2 separate regions of the Homo sapiens genome follow, and region 1 is linked to region 2. The links are contacts of gene promoters, found by promoter capture Hi-C in human tissues and cell types (Jung and others, 2019). All regions are on one chromosome and are shown on one strand. The core of a region is centred on a gene start or on the middle of the fragment in contact, and the rest is flanking DNA. Distances in the headings are between cores, read along the strand shown.

Region 1 (6,781 bases), core at 3,327-5,826, 200 kb after region 2:
TTGGGAGGCTGAGGTGGGAGGTGGGCAGATTGCCTGAGGTCAGGAGTTCGAGACCAGCCTTGCCAACATGGTGAAACCCTGTCTCTACTAAAAATGCAAAAATTACCTGGGCATGGTGGCGGGTGCCTGCAATCCCAGCTACTCAGGAGACAGAGGTAGGAGAACTGTTTAAACCCAGGAGGTGGAGGTTGCAGTGAGCCAATATTGCACCACTGCACTCCAGCCTGGGCAACAGAGTGAGACTCCATTTCAAAAAAAAAAAAAAATGTAACCTGGGCAGTGCAGTATGAACCAACTGTCATTGATTTGTTCGACATAGGGATAAGAGGTTACAGTAGCCAGTGGTCAAAAGATGCAAACCATAACCAAAGATCTCTGTAATCTCACGGTTGCTTGTGTGAGTCAGATAGGCAGCCTTTGGAATTTTAATCAGGCAAATGACACCAGAGGATTTTCATCTATTGCATCATTCCCTTTTTAATCTGAGCACATTAGCGTCTACATTCCAGGCCTGAGTAAGGTGACTAAACCAGGAAGTTTAATGATTACAGAGATCACATGCATTTGGAGTCATCTAGCTCAGCCCTCTCACTTTATAGAATCAAGACAAAATAATTAGGTTATTTTATCATTCCTCATCTGATTACTCCAATTCAAGTCTTGGGATTTTTCACCCTTACTACAGTTCTATTGGCTATTCAAGGATATCTAGGTTTAAATCTTATAAGTAGTTGGATTTTGCTTAAGAACACCCATTTGAGGGCCGACACTGACAAGTGACATTTTAGTTAAAGCGTATCACCCATCTGGCCCAAATCTTCCATGTAAGAAGGGAAACTCTCCCATCTGTAGACACATCTCCGTTTCATAGAGCTCCACTTTAATCTACACGGTCCGTTTTGGCAAGGCTCAAAGATAATTTCTGTTTCTCTTTAAGTACTGAGTATGGTGGGAGGACTAGAAGTCCAGCAAAATTTACCTATTTATTTAGCAAACACTTCCCCATGGGGTTTACTAGATGTCTTACGATATTAATTCCACAGTAACTGTCATTCTCCCTATTTTACAGATGGAGAAACCAAGGCACAGAGCCCAACTGGGACGCAGTGAAATCGAGATTTGAACGCAGGCAGTCTAGCTGCAGAGTTCTTGCTTGCCCGCTGTGCTACACTGGCTAGGCTGGAAACAAGGCACGGGGAGACTTGGGGCCTCAGCTGGAAAAATGGCCCTAAGCTCTTTCTAACACAGTGGAAAGTGCACAGGCCCTGGGGTCCTACTTTGGCTTTTCTTAAACTGCAGGTAAAGGTCCAAGTCTATATTCATATCTGTAAAAGCTTCATAGCTATGTCAGTGGTCACAGTGAGAAAGAAAGCAAATTATCACACAAGGAAAGGCATGTGGTCTACAGTGGGCACACTAGAAGCATCTCCTGAAGCTCAGCCTTTCCCTGGCTGGGGACCCCTCTTCGCTCACCCAACTTGGTCTCTTGGGATAAGAAAATGTGTGCAGACCTTTCAGTCCACTCAGTAAGGCATGATCCTAAACCATTAGAAAGTACCTGTTCCATGTACTGGAATTAAAGGAACAGTTGGGAATTTTATGGAAATTCTATTCCTGTTACTAAAGAAAACAGCTCTTGAATTCTGCCCTGTATTCTTTTTAATGGTAAGTCCAAAGTTAAGTCGTCATAACATAAATCAGTGTGACCTGCTGGTATTCCACTTGCTGCAAAAGAATCAGAAACTGTGTGGGAGAGCAAACTTCCATAATAAGAAAACCAATGTAGAGACTTCCAAACGCTGCCAGTGGTTACAGTCACAATGGTGTCTCTATCGGAGCAGCCACAAATGAAGCAGAAATGCTAACCTCAGCAAGTTTCAAAAGAATGCTGCTAATCATTTTTACAGGTTTATTCTGAACCGAAGACAAGGAATGCTCAGGAAGAAATTCTGACATGATTTCTAAATCACAACTGTACATTAAGGGTCATATTTGCAAAACACCTATCAAGGAAAGAAAAGCCATACAAGAAAATGCAGTTCATGTGACTTTTAACATTTTTCAGAATAATTACAATCTCAATTGCACAAAATAACCAACTTTTCAAAGCAAATGAGACTTCTGGTTAAACACGGCATTAACCTACAAGGACAAAAAGAAAGGAAACAGTGACTGATAAGAGATCTTAACATAATTCTGGAAGACAGGAAGCTCACGGAAGTAATTGCTTAGTAGAGCAAACACTGAAACCTGAGTGCCCGCAGAGGGTGACTCGGGTGAGAAAGGAGCTGTGACGTTTGTAAAACTCTAAAATGCTCAGGAATCAGAGGTCTGGGGCAAGACATAGAGCCAAAAACAAGAGATTGGTTAAAAAGCTATATAAAAAAGCTTGGCCAGGCACGGTGGCTCACCCCTGTAATCCCAGCATTTTGGGAGGCCAAGGCAGGTGGATCATTTGAGGTCAGGAGTTCGAGACCAGCCTGGCCCAGGTGGTACCCCCATCCCTACTAAAAATACAAAAAAAAATTAGCCAGGCATGGTGGTAGACACCTCTAATCCCAGCTACCCAGGAGACTGAAGCACAAGAATAGCTTGAACCTGGGGAACAGATTTTGCAATGAGCTGAGATTGCACCACTGCACTCAAGCTTGGGCGACAGACCCAGACTCCATCTCAGCGGAAAAAAAAAAAACCCCAAAAAAACCCAAACCCACAGGTATGGAAAAGGGAAAACTATAGAGACAGTAAACAAGTCAGTAGTGGCCAGGGATTTGGAAAGGTGGGGGATGCTGAATAAGTGAAACGCAAGGGCGTTTTTAGGGCAGTGAAACTATTCTGTATGACACTGTAACGGCAAATACATGACACACTTTCAAAACCCATAGAATTTGACAGCACAAAGAATGAACTTTAATGTACATACATTCAAAAAAACATTTAGGAGGTCAGCGACGCAACACAGACTGTGACATGAGTCTAACTGTGTTGCAAGTGTGTGAAATAGCCTCACTGAAGGGGAAGGGGAGGGAAAATATGCTGACCTAAGAAACTTTGGAAATTAATAGAGTAAGACTACAAGTAAAAGGAAGTGTATGTAGCACTGTATTCTGATTGATAAAGTTGCTTCCTGCAAGAGCACGCTTAACAATTCTGAAACCACTACACAAGAATACTGGAATTGAACAATTAAGTACATGGATGGTGGATGGCGGGAGGGAGGTTTCTTGCTGCTGGAGTGAGAGGCTTCAAGCAGGGGAGAAGGCTAGAATGATCCATGTCACTGGATTAGAATTGAGGACATCAGTATACACTCATGTTTAGCTTGATATTCATATAGATGACTATACATATATGTTTATATAAAGATTTGAAGACGTGTATATAGCTTAGTATACACGTGCATATGTCCTTGCTTTGTCAGCTGAGAAACACTAGAAGTAATGACACCCAGTAGCAACAAGCACACCTAGTGCCCAGATCAAAGAACCAGGTCTATACAAGATGGTCCTGGCGCATCTTGTAGTGCCAGAAAGGAAGGAACTAATCAACAAAACAAAAACCAAATGATACGGATGTGTCAAAGGAACACAGGAGCCAACTGAAAGTGAAAAAGTTCCTAATAACCAAAGCTAGAAAACATTGATAGGAGTGTTAAAAAAAAGAAAGAAAGAAAAAATTGGGCAAGATAAAGTATGATTGGATTATAACCCAAAGTCTACATTTCCATTAGCCCATACTGATGTTAACAAATAATTGTATAAATATATAAGTGAGGGAGAAAGGACCAATCTCCCATGCAGAAGAATGAACACAGATACTCCACCCTCAAAGAGGTGGAGCACAGTATACACAGTGATTCTTTCCAGACAGTTCAGTATGGAAAATGAGAAAAGGGTAACATGACAGTGAAGAAACCTGACACGTTGTCCTCAGGCATGTGATGAAGGTCAACTTCAGCAGGGTGAAGTCATGTTGACAGTACAGATCCGTGATATGAGGTGATAAGACCAGCACCTTACCTCTGGGCTCTTTCTCCCAAAACCCAAACCCTAGTCTAATCATAAGAAAAACATCAGACAAATCCCAACTGATGAATAGTCTATAGAATACGTGATTAGTACTTAAAGCTGTTGAGATCATCTACAGCAAGTCTGAGAAACTGTCACAGCCAAGAGGAGCTTAAGGAGACGACTAAATGTCATGTGGTGTCTTGGATGGGATCCAAAAGAGAAGAAGGCCACTGGGTAAAAACTAAGGAGATCTAAAAACCTGTGGCCTTTAGTTAATAATAATGTATCAGTCTTGGTTCATTAATTATAACAAACGTACCATACTAATGTAAGATGTTAATGGGGGAAATGTAAGATGTTAATAGGGGAAATGTGTTGGGTATATGGGAATTCTTTGTATTATCTTTGCAATTTTTCTGCAAATCTAAAACTATCCTAACTTTTTTTTTTTAAGTTTATGTTTAAAAAACCTTACAGGCCAGGCGTGGTGGCTCACGCCTGTAATCCCAGCACTTTGGGAGGCCAAGCTGGGTGGACCTCCTGAGGTCAGAAGTTTGAGACCAGCCTGGCTAACGTGGCGAAACCTCATCTCTAATAAAAATACAAAAATTAGCTGGCTGTGGTGGTGTGCACCTGTAGTCCCAGCTACTCTGGAGGCTGAGGCAGGAGAATTGCTTGAACCCAGGAGGCGGAGGTTGCAGTGAGCTGAGATCACACCATTGCACTCTAGCATGGGCAACAAGAGCAAAACTCCATCTCAAAAACAAACAAACAAAAAACCTTACAGATACTGCCTGGCATGTTGGCTCATGCTAGCACTTTGGGATCACCTGAGGTCAGGAGTTCGAGACCAGCCTGGCCAACATGGTGAGACCCAGTCTCTATTAAAAATACAAAAATTAGCTGGGTGTGGTGGTGCACGCCTGTAATCCCAGCTACTCAGGAGGCTGAGGCAGGAGAATTGCTTGAACTTGGGAAGCAGAGGTTGTTTTCTGTTTATTTGTATATTTGTTTGTTTTTTGAGATGGAGTCTCACTCTGTCGCCCAGGCTGGAGTGCAGTGGCACAATCTCGGCTCACTGCAACCTCCGCCTCCTGGGTTCAAGGGATTCTCCTGCCTCAGCCTCCTGAGCAGCTGGGACTACAGGCACGCGCCACCATGCCCAGCTAATTTTTATATTTTTAGTAGAGACTGGGTTTCACCATATTGGCCAGGCTGGTCTAGAACTCCTGACCTCATGATTCACTCCCTCCCACCCCACTGGCCTCCCAAAGTGCTGGGATTACAGGCGTGAGCCACTGCACCTGGCCTTGGGTGGCAGAGGTTGTATGACCAGAGTTCATGCCACAGCACTCCAGCCTGGGCAACAGAATGAGACTCTGACTCAAAAAATAAAATAAAGTAAAATAAACCTTACAGATACTGACATTTAGGGAATCATTTAAAAAGCCAGCTTATCATCCAATCAACCTGCATAAAAACTGAAAAGACATTAGGCCTATAAACAGAGCTCTCCATTAGCTTATTTCTTCACTTTTAAACATAGACACAGGCAAGGATCGCTAGACACATGAGACAAGTTTCCAACAATAAAGGTAGAAATCAAACCAAGCTGGGAAAAAAAAAAGGAATTAGAATAACGTAAGAAACAGAAGAAAACTTAAAAATTACTTTATCTAGAGATACTATAGGTGGAGGTTTATCTATTTTTTTGAGACAGGGTCTGGTACTGTCACCCAGGCTGGAGTGCAGTGGTGCCATCTCAGCTCACTGCAACCTCCGCCTCCTGGGCTCAAGTGATCCTCCCACCTCAGCCTCTCAGGTAGCTGGGACTACAGGCGCACATCAACATGCCGGGCTAATTTTTGCTTTTTTTGTAGAGACAGGGTTTTGCCATGTTGCACAGGCTGGTCTTGAACTTCTGAGCTCAAGCGATCTGTCCGTCTCAGCCTCCCAAAATGTTGGGATTACAGGCGTGAGCCACTGCACCCAGCCAGGTTTATGTATTTTAAAGCTGTGAAACAGGGGAGGGAAATCTCAGCATGACTCCCTTATCCATTTGCCTGTCCCATAGCAAATCTCTACTTTTCATTACATCCTAATAGGTTTGAGTTAGACACACACAGAATGACTGCATCATAATTACAGACTCCCAGTTTTGAGTCATAAGAGACTCTAATTTGTGATGATAGTTTTATATATTTGTGATTTACAGTCACTTTTCAAGAGTTTCATTTTGCAGATTTACACTCTTCCATATATGTAACATACAAAACATTACAAGTCACTGGATATTATTCCCAGTCATTTTCTAATCACATTTTATTAAATTATCAGGTCTGTATAGTGATAGGTTGAGATTAGTCTCTAAGCCTTAGTCCACATCCCATGTTTAAGTTCAGTGGAATCCATAATAATCCACGGAGGGCTCTCAGGTGAGTACTTCACAATCCGTGAGAAGACTGCAAGGACAGGAAAGAGCTGTCTCTCACAAAGAGTGACATGACCATAGTGAAATGGAAATGAATGCCTGGAATTTAGCTGGCCCTGAAGCCCACAAAGAAAGATAAGTGACATGACAAGCTTGTTGCAGAGAAGGAAGACTAGGCTGCTTTCTTGGTGACAATTTTAGGTACACTGAAGATAATTCTCCAGGGCCACTCCAATTCTATTTTTCCTGTTTTGCTTCACATGCTGCCATCTTTTCTTTAGTCTGTCTCTTCTTCTAACCACAGTTCCCTCCTTTCCCTCCAAAGGAAGGAGACGTGAAA
Region 2 (6,487 bases), core at 2,904-5,403:
GCACCTCTTTTTTTTTTTTTGAGATGGAATCTCAATCTGTCACCCAGGCTGGAGTGCAGTGGCTGCATCTCAGCTCCCTGCAACCTCCGCCTCCCGCATTCAAGTGATTCTCCTGCCTCAGCCTCCCGAGTAGCTGGGATTACAGGCACTTGCCACTGTACCTGGCTAATTTTTGTATTTTTAGTAGAGACAGGGTTTCACCATGTTGGCCAGGCTGGTCTCGAACTCCTGACTTCAGGTGATCCACCCACCTCAGCCTCCCAAAGTGCTGGGATTACAGGTGTGAGCCACCATACCCAGCCTCACTCCTCTTCTCTAATTGAGGAAATAGATAGGGGCTCCTGGGTCTTTGAATTTCATGGGCCAATATAATATTAAAAACCTATTGAGGGGGCCGGGCATGGTGGCTTACGCCTGTAATCCCACCACTTTGGGAGACTGAAGCAGGCAGATCACCTGAAGTCAGGAGTTCAAGACCAGCCTGGCCAACATGGTGAAACCTCGTCTCTACTGAAAATATAAAAATTAGCTGGGCATGGGGGTGGGCGCCTGTAATCCCAGCTACTCGGGAGGCTGAGGCAGGAGAATCGCTTGAACCTGGGAGGTGGAGGGTACAGTGAGCCAAGATTGTGCCACTGCACTCCAGCCTGGGCAACACAGTGAGACTCTGTCTCAAAAACAAACAAACAAAACAAAAACAACAACAACAACAACAAAAACCCTATTGAGGGAACCATACCGGTCACTGACTTTTTATTCCACCAAGTAAGGAATTTTAAAGAAAAAGCAAAACCAGGTCAACAACTACCATCCGCCATCCCCATTATTTCATGAAAGAACTCAAACAGCAGGAAGGGCATGGTCTCGGAATGAAGGACAGTCCATGGAACCAGATTCATCTAGCAGAATGAAAAGTGTTCTTCTTCTTGTCCTCATTTGGCCCCACCAGGAGCTCCCGCAAATACAGATGTGATCCTTCCTCCTGTCTCTGGGATGATCACTGGAGCAGCGGCTCAGGGTCAGACCCACCACCGGGCACAGGACTGGAGCCTTTCAGCAGAGGGGCTGACCCTTTGCCAACCCCACGTCCTCCTCTCACTTCGGCCACCTCCTGGCACCCCCAGCATTGCCCTGGTGACAGGGTGACCCTCAGCGCTAGTGTCCCGCGATGCTGTCTGTGACCTCTGAAGCTAGGGCCCAGAGCAGCCTCCCAAACAGAGATAGGCCACTCTCAAGAGCATCCCCCAGGCGCTGATAGCAACGCCTCATCCACAGTGCTTTCTGGAGCCGCCTTTCCTCTCCCACCCACTTCTCTCACACACCACAGCTCTCCCACCTTTTCTTCCTCAAACTCCCTGGAAGATCATTCCTCTCCCAACTCTGGTCTTTAAGCCTCTAGCCCAGAGGTCACAATTACACCAACCAGCAAGGCACAGTTGCCAGCGCACGCCCGTCTGAAGGAGTGGCTGCTGTCTAGCTGTGTGGACGTTGCCCTGCGCTTCCCAGGCCCCCTTCAAGCTGCCGGGCAGGCATATAGTACCAGCACCATGTTTAGCGTCCCCGACTGCAGGCCTCGCCTCAACTGCCTTGACAACAATCACATGATTTCTTGGGGTGGCCCACGTCCAGTGACCAATGTGGAAATATAAAGGCCTGGTTAACTTTGCCCCACACGGGGCAACTCTGAAGCTATCCCAGTTCCAATTACCCATGGGGTTACCAAGGCTATTGTAGGCCTGGACCACAGCACGATGCCGTGCTTCAGCCACACTTGCTTCCTGCCTTGTCTGCTGCCCCAAGTGTTGACCCCAGTGGTAGCTCCCTGAGAAACAGCTGGTGTGTTTCTTACACAGCAGGGTCTGCTTCCTGGATGCACGCAACTGGCACCATCAGCTCAGGTGTGCGATTACAGGTGTGAGCCACCGTGCCCGGCATTTTTTTTTCTCCTTTAAAAGGACTGGCCTTCCAGGCGCAGTGGCTCATGCCTGTAATCCCAGCACTTTGGGAGGCTGAGGCAGGTGGATCACCTGAGGTCAGGAGTTCAAGACCACCCTGACCAACATGGTGAAACCCTGTCTACTAAAAAAATACAAAAATTAGCCAGGTGTGGTGGCATACACCTGTAATCCCAGCTACTTAGGAGGCTGAGGCAGGAGAATCGCTTGAACCCAGGAGGCGGAGGTTGCAGTGAGCCAAGATCGTGCCATTGCACTCCAGCCTGGGCGACACTGTGAGACTCCATCTAAAATAATAAAATAAAATAAGGACTGGCCTTCGGGATCGCTGTCTAGCTATGGACTCAGAAGGCCAGTGCCAAGCAGCAAAGCTGATCAGGAACCCCTTCATCCTGGGTGGCCCGCATCTTCCCCTTTCACGAGGCTTCAAACCATAGCACATAGTTGGAAGGCTGCAAGAGCAGATAATTTAAGGGGAAAATAAAAACTCAGATGTACAAGCTCCAAAACATAATCCCCTTTACATAAACAGTGGAGGTGGCGGGATGTTGTGGGGAGGAAGGAACTTGAACTCTGCTGGGCTTCTGTGACTGGTGACAGGCGCTCAGGCATCCCAGCCCTGCACTGGGTTTGCACCTGAAGCTCAACAAATTCCCACTGCCTGGGAGCAGGAGGACAGCAAAAAGAGCAGGCTGTCTTGGGCTTCCATTCTTATTTCTACACATTCTGCTCTTTAGGACCCTGGCCAGATGGGCATGAGACAGAAGCAAACCCTAAAGTACTGCTACTGTTGCCGCCACCAACAGAGATCAAAGGCAGAGACCCTTCTGCTAGGGTCCAAAGTCCAAACAGGCCACTCCAGAGAGGAAACAGGCACACAGGCACACACCCACGGGAGGAGTAGGGGCCCAGGAAGCACTCCCTCCCCAAGGGCAAGGATGGGGTTCCCATTCGACCCAGCACATGCTCCTCACATCTGCACAGCAGGGAGACCAAACAATAGATACAATTTCAGTGTTGATTGTCGATGAACTTACCCAGAAGTTCATAATCAGAAAAATCCATAAAGAAGCTCTTTCAATTTCAGCATGTTTAAGTTTCATGACTTATGGTTTAGTGTTGTTTTTATATTGGATTCCATGGGTGGCATAATCTTTTCAGCACTAGAGACCTTTAAAGGTCTTTCTCAGCTCACCCCGGGAGACAAGGGCTGGGTGTCAGGAAAGTGACACACAGGGAGAAGCAGAAAATGGACTGGGAGTGTGGGGGCCGAGGCCCAGCCACGAGAAACCCAGGCGGTGCAAGGCAGAGCCCTGGGAGCACAGAGGCTGCTGTGCCGTGGGTTGCTGGTGAATGAGAAGCCTCCTCTGCTTTAATGAAGAACATGCCCCCCCGACTCCCGCTAATCCTGCCCTGCCTTCATGGTCCACACACCACAGGTGTGCACAGGTTCATGCGTGTGTGTGAGCTTAACACGTCAGCCGCACATACAGTTGCTCAGAAACATCTTCACTGCTTCACACACGTGCACACAGTCAATGACCAGGAGCAGGGATCTTGGGGCAAACCTAGAGCAGCTTCTCAGGAGTTAAAACTCCAGCTTTGCTGTGGTTCCCGGAAGAGCCCTGACTTTGTCCTAAGACAGTGGTTCTCAAAGTGAAGTGCTGGCTCCAGCAGCATCAGTATCACCTGGGAACTCGCTGGAAACGCTCCGGGTTCTGGCTTCTCCTCCTAGAGCGCCCAGAGCTGTGGGGTCCTCCCTTCGGGCCAGAAACTCCAATCATAGTTTTTATGTACCAACCCCTGTGCTAAGTAGACTTTGTGCACATTATCTCCATTTAAAATTCACAAATGTACTGTAAGATGCACACCATTTTTCTATATTTTTCAGATGGGGTAGACAGAGCTCAGAAAGGTTAAGAGACTTGCCTGGAGTCACCAAACCAGGCTCGAACTCCTTCTGTATTCAGAATCACTCTTCAGACGTAGCTCCTGTCCTGGGCTGAAAGTCAACATCCGCCGAGAGCTGGGCCCTCTGTACCAGCCCCATCTCCCCCAAGTCTCTCCCTGCCTCTGCAGCCAGTCCTAAATCTTTCAAGAGACAAGGCCAAGCAGGGGGTGGGACCAGGGGCGGGAGCCAAAGCCCCCCCTCGTGAGCAGGCAGCACCTCTGCCAAGGCCCCCACTGGCCCTGCCCCAGAGAACGGCAGGGAAGCTGCAGCGAGGGCTGGCAGCTGGCAGAGCCCTGAGCACCCAGCACCCAGCCCGGCTTGCAGCCCAAAGCCTGGAGAGAGGCTGCTGCGCCATTGACCTGTGGACTCCAGAGACTCCCGCTGTGCATTCCTCTGATCTGGAAGGTTTCCTGAATTACGTGACGAGAAACCTGGGTTCGAGTCCTAACTTGTCACCAACTTCCTGAGTGACCTGGGCTGGTCCCGTCCCCTCTTGGAATCTCTGTCTTCCATCTCTTCAGCGAAGGGGTTGATTTATAAGGGTGTTTTCTGCTCTGACACTGTGATTTGAATTCTGTGTTTCCACATGATATTCGAGAAGTCTGGCCGGAAGGATGGAATCTGAAATGACAATGGTTCTGGACTGGGCTTTGTGCTCAGCCCAGCTCATCTTTGCCTGAGACCTAGGAGTGGCCCCAGGCTCTCCTGATGTGCCACCACGCTTGGCATCTGCTCCTCTCCCTGCCCCCATATTCCCATGCTCTGAAGGGGAGTTCTCTTTCATAGCAAATCCGAGAGGAGCCGAGGAGCCAGGTCCTTTGTTCCAGACCCAGAAGCAGCCATGGGGACCTGTGACATTGTGACTGAAGCCAATATCTCATCTGGCCCTGAGAGCAACACCACGGGCATCACAGCCTTCTCCATGCCCAGCTGGCAACTGGCACTGTGGGCCACAGCCTACCTGGCCCTGGTGCTGGTGGCCGTGACGGGTAATGCCATCGTCATCTGGATCATCCTGGCCCATCGGAGGATGCGCACAGTCACCAACTACTTCATCGTCAATCTGGCGCTGGCTGACCTCTGCATGGCTGCCTTCAATGCCGCCTTCAACTTTGTCTATGCCAGCCACAACATCTGGTACTTTGGCCGTGCCTTCTGCTACTTCCAGAACCTCTTCCCCATCACAGCCATGTTTGTCAGCATCTACTCCATGACCGCCATTGCTGCCGACAGGCAAGAGGGTCCTTGGGGAAGCTGGGGGGAGCCTCCCCACTGAGCCGGGGCTCAGATAAGGGTGGTGACATGCCTGTGATTACACAGCAAGTTTGGGTAGAACCATGGGAATGGCTTCCCAAATCTGGTCATGGTCCAAAACTATGAATCTGGAAGGCAGGGGGACTGTGGAGCTGAAGAAGGTAGACTGAGGGTTAGACACAGAGAAGGACTTTGCACTAGATGCACTAGACAGGTTGTTCAAGTCTGTAGGGGAAGTGGGCAATGTTTTAGCGACCTTCTGAAGTGTTCTTTCCTGGAGTTGATCTTTGTTTTGTTGTCTTTATTTCACTCCAAAGATATGTCTTATACAGTTTTTTTTTTATTATTCCGGATAGATTACACGAGGGGAAAATGTTAAGTTTGCTTGCAGTTACAATCTAATAGGGCCAATTATTTTCCCAACGCTGCTCAGGGCTGAGCTTCAGGCTAATGTTGGATGCTTGATCTTGCCCTGAGATGGGCTTCCAGTGTGGCTTTCTTGTGGCCGTCCACGGGCATGTCCATGCCCAGAGGGAAATGGTGGGCCGAGGTGCCTGGGCCGGGGTTCCAAGGCATCAGTGTGCTGTGTGGCTGTGGGAGAGTCACCCAGCGGGCTCTCTGCAGGTCGGCTGATACTATGATATCAGCAGATGGCAGCAGTGCGGGGAATGGCTAGAAGGCGTGGGCCTGGGTTGGGAGAGAGGGAGACAGGGGAAAGGGAGCTGGGCTAACAGGAGGGCCCCTGCCGCTCAAGCTGCCCTCTGCTCACAGGTACATGGCCATCGTCCACCCCTTCCAGCCTCGGCTTTCAGCTCCCAGCACCAAGGCGGTTATTGCTGGCATCTGGCTGGTGGCTCTCGCCCTGGCCTCCCCTCAGTGCTTCTACTCCACCGTCACCATGGACCAGGGTGCCACCAAGTGCGTGGTGGCCTGGCCCGAAGACAGCGGGGGCAAGACGCTCCTCCTGTAAGGCCTCTGGGGGATTGTGGAGGGCAACAGTGTGTGTGTGTGAGTCTGTGTGTGTGTGTGTACACACGCGTGCATGCATCCATGTCCATGCATGTGTGGTGTGCATGCATGGGTGTACACATGAGTGAGTGTACACGGGATTGTGTGAATATACCTATATGCTTAGTAAGCAACACACACGATGTAGCCGATCTGTTTTTCACACTTTACATATATTGACCCATTTAATTCTCCTAACTATGTGGGATATATATTATATTATTATTCTTACCATTTTTTAGATGAAGAAACTGAGGCACTGAAAAACTAAGTAACATGCCCAAAACCACACAGCTAGTAATTCAAATCCAGCTAGTCA

What was found. The method cuts DNA at HindIII sites, captures the fragments that hold promoters and counts their contacts. A contact is called where the count stands out against the background at its distance.
Region 1: a fragment that was not itself captured here is called in contact with the fragment with the promoter of TACR2 in region 2 in 1 of the 25 tissues and cell types used here (lymphoblastoid cells).

Annotation. Positions count from the first base shown.
Region 1 is chr10:69,211,061-69,217,841 of GRCh38, reverse strand. It overlaps LOC101928994 (a long non-coding RNA gene), which reads left to right. Exons shown (of 5, transcript NR_120648.1): 5 at 1,070-2,509. Among named protein-coding and RNA genes, the nearest start is that of HKDC1, 5.9 kb to the left of the region's middle. The HindIII fragment of the contact is 5,430 bases long and covers 1,862-6,781 here.
Region 2 is chr10:69,414,584-69,421,070 of GRCh38, reverse strand. It overlaps TACR2 (tachykinin receptor 2), which reads left to right and starts at 4,153. Exons shown (of 5, transcript NM_001057.3): 1 at 4,153-5,139; 2 at 5,932-6,126. The coding sequence starts at 4,748. RefSeq lists enhancers at 2,604-2,898, 3,649-4,383. The HindIII fragment of the contact is 13,628 bases long and covers 1-6,487 here.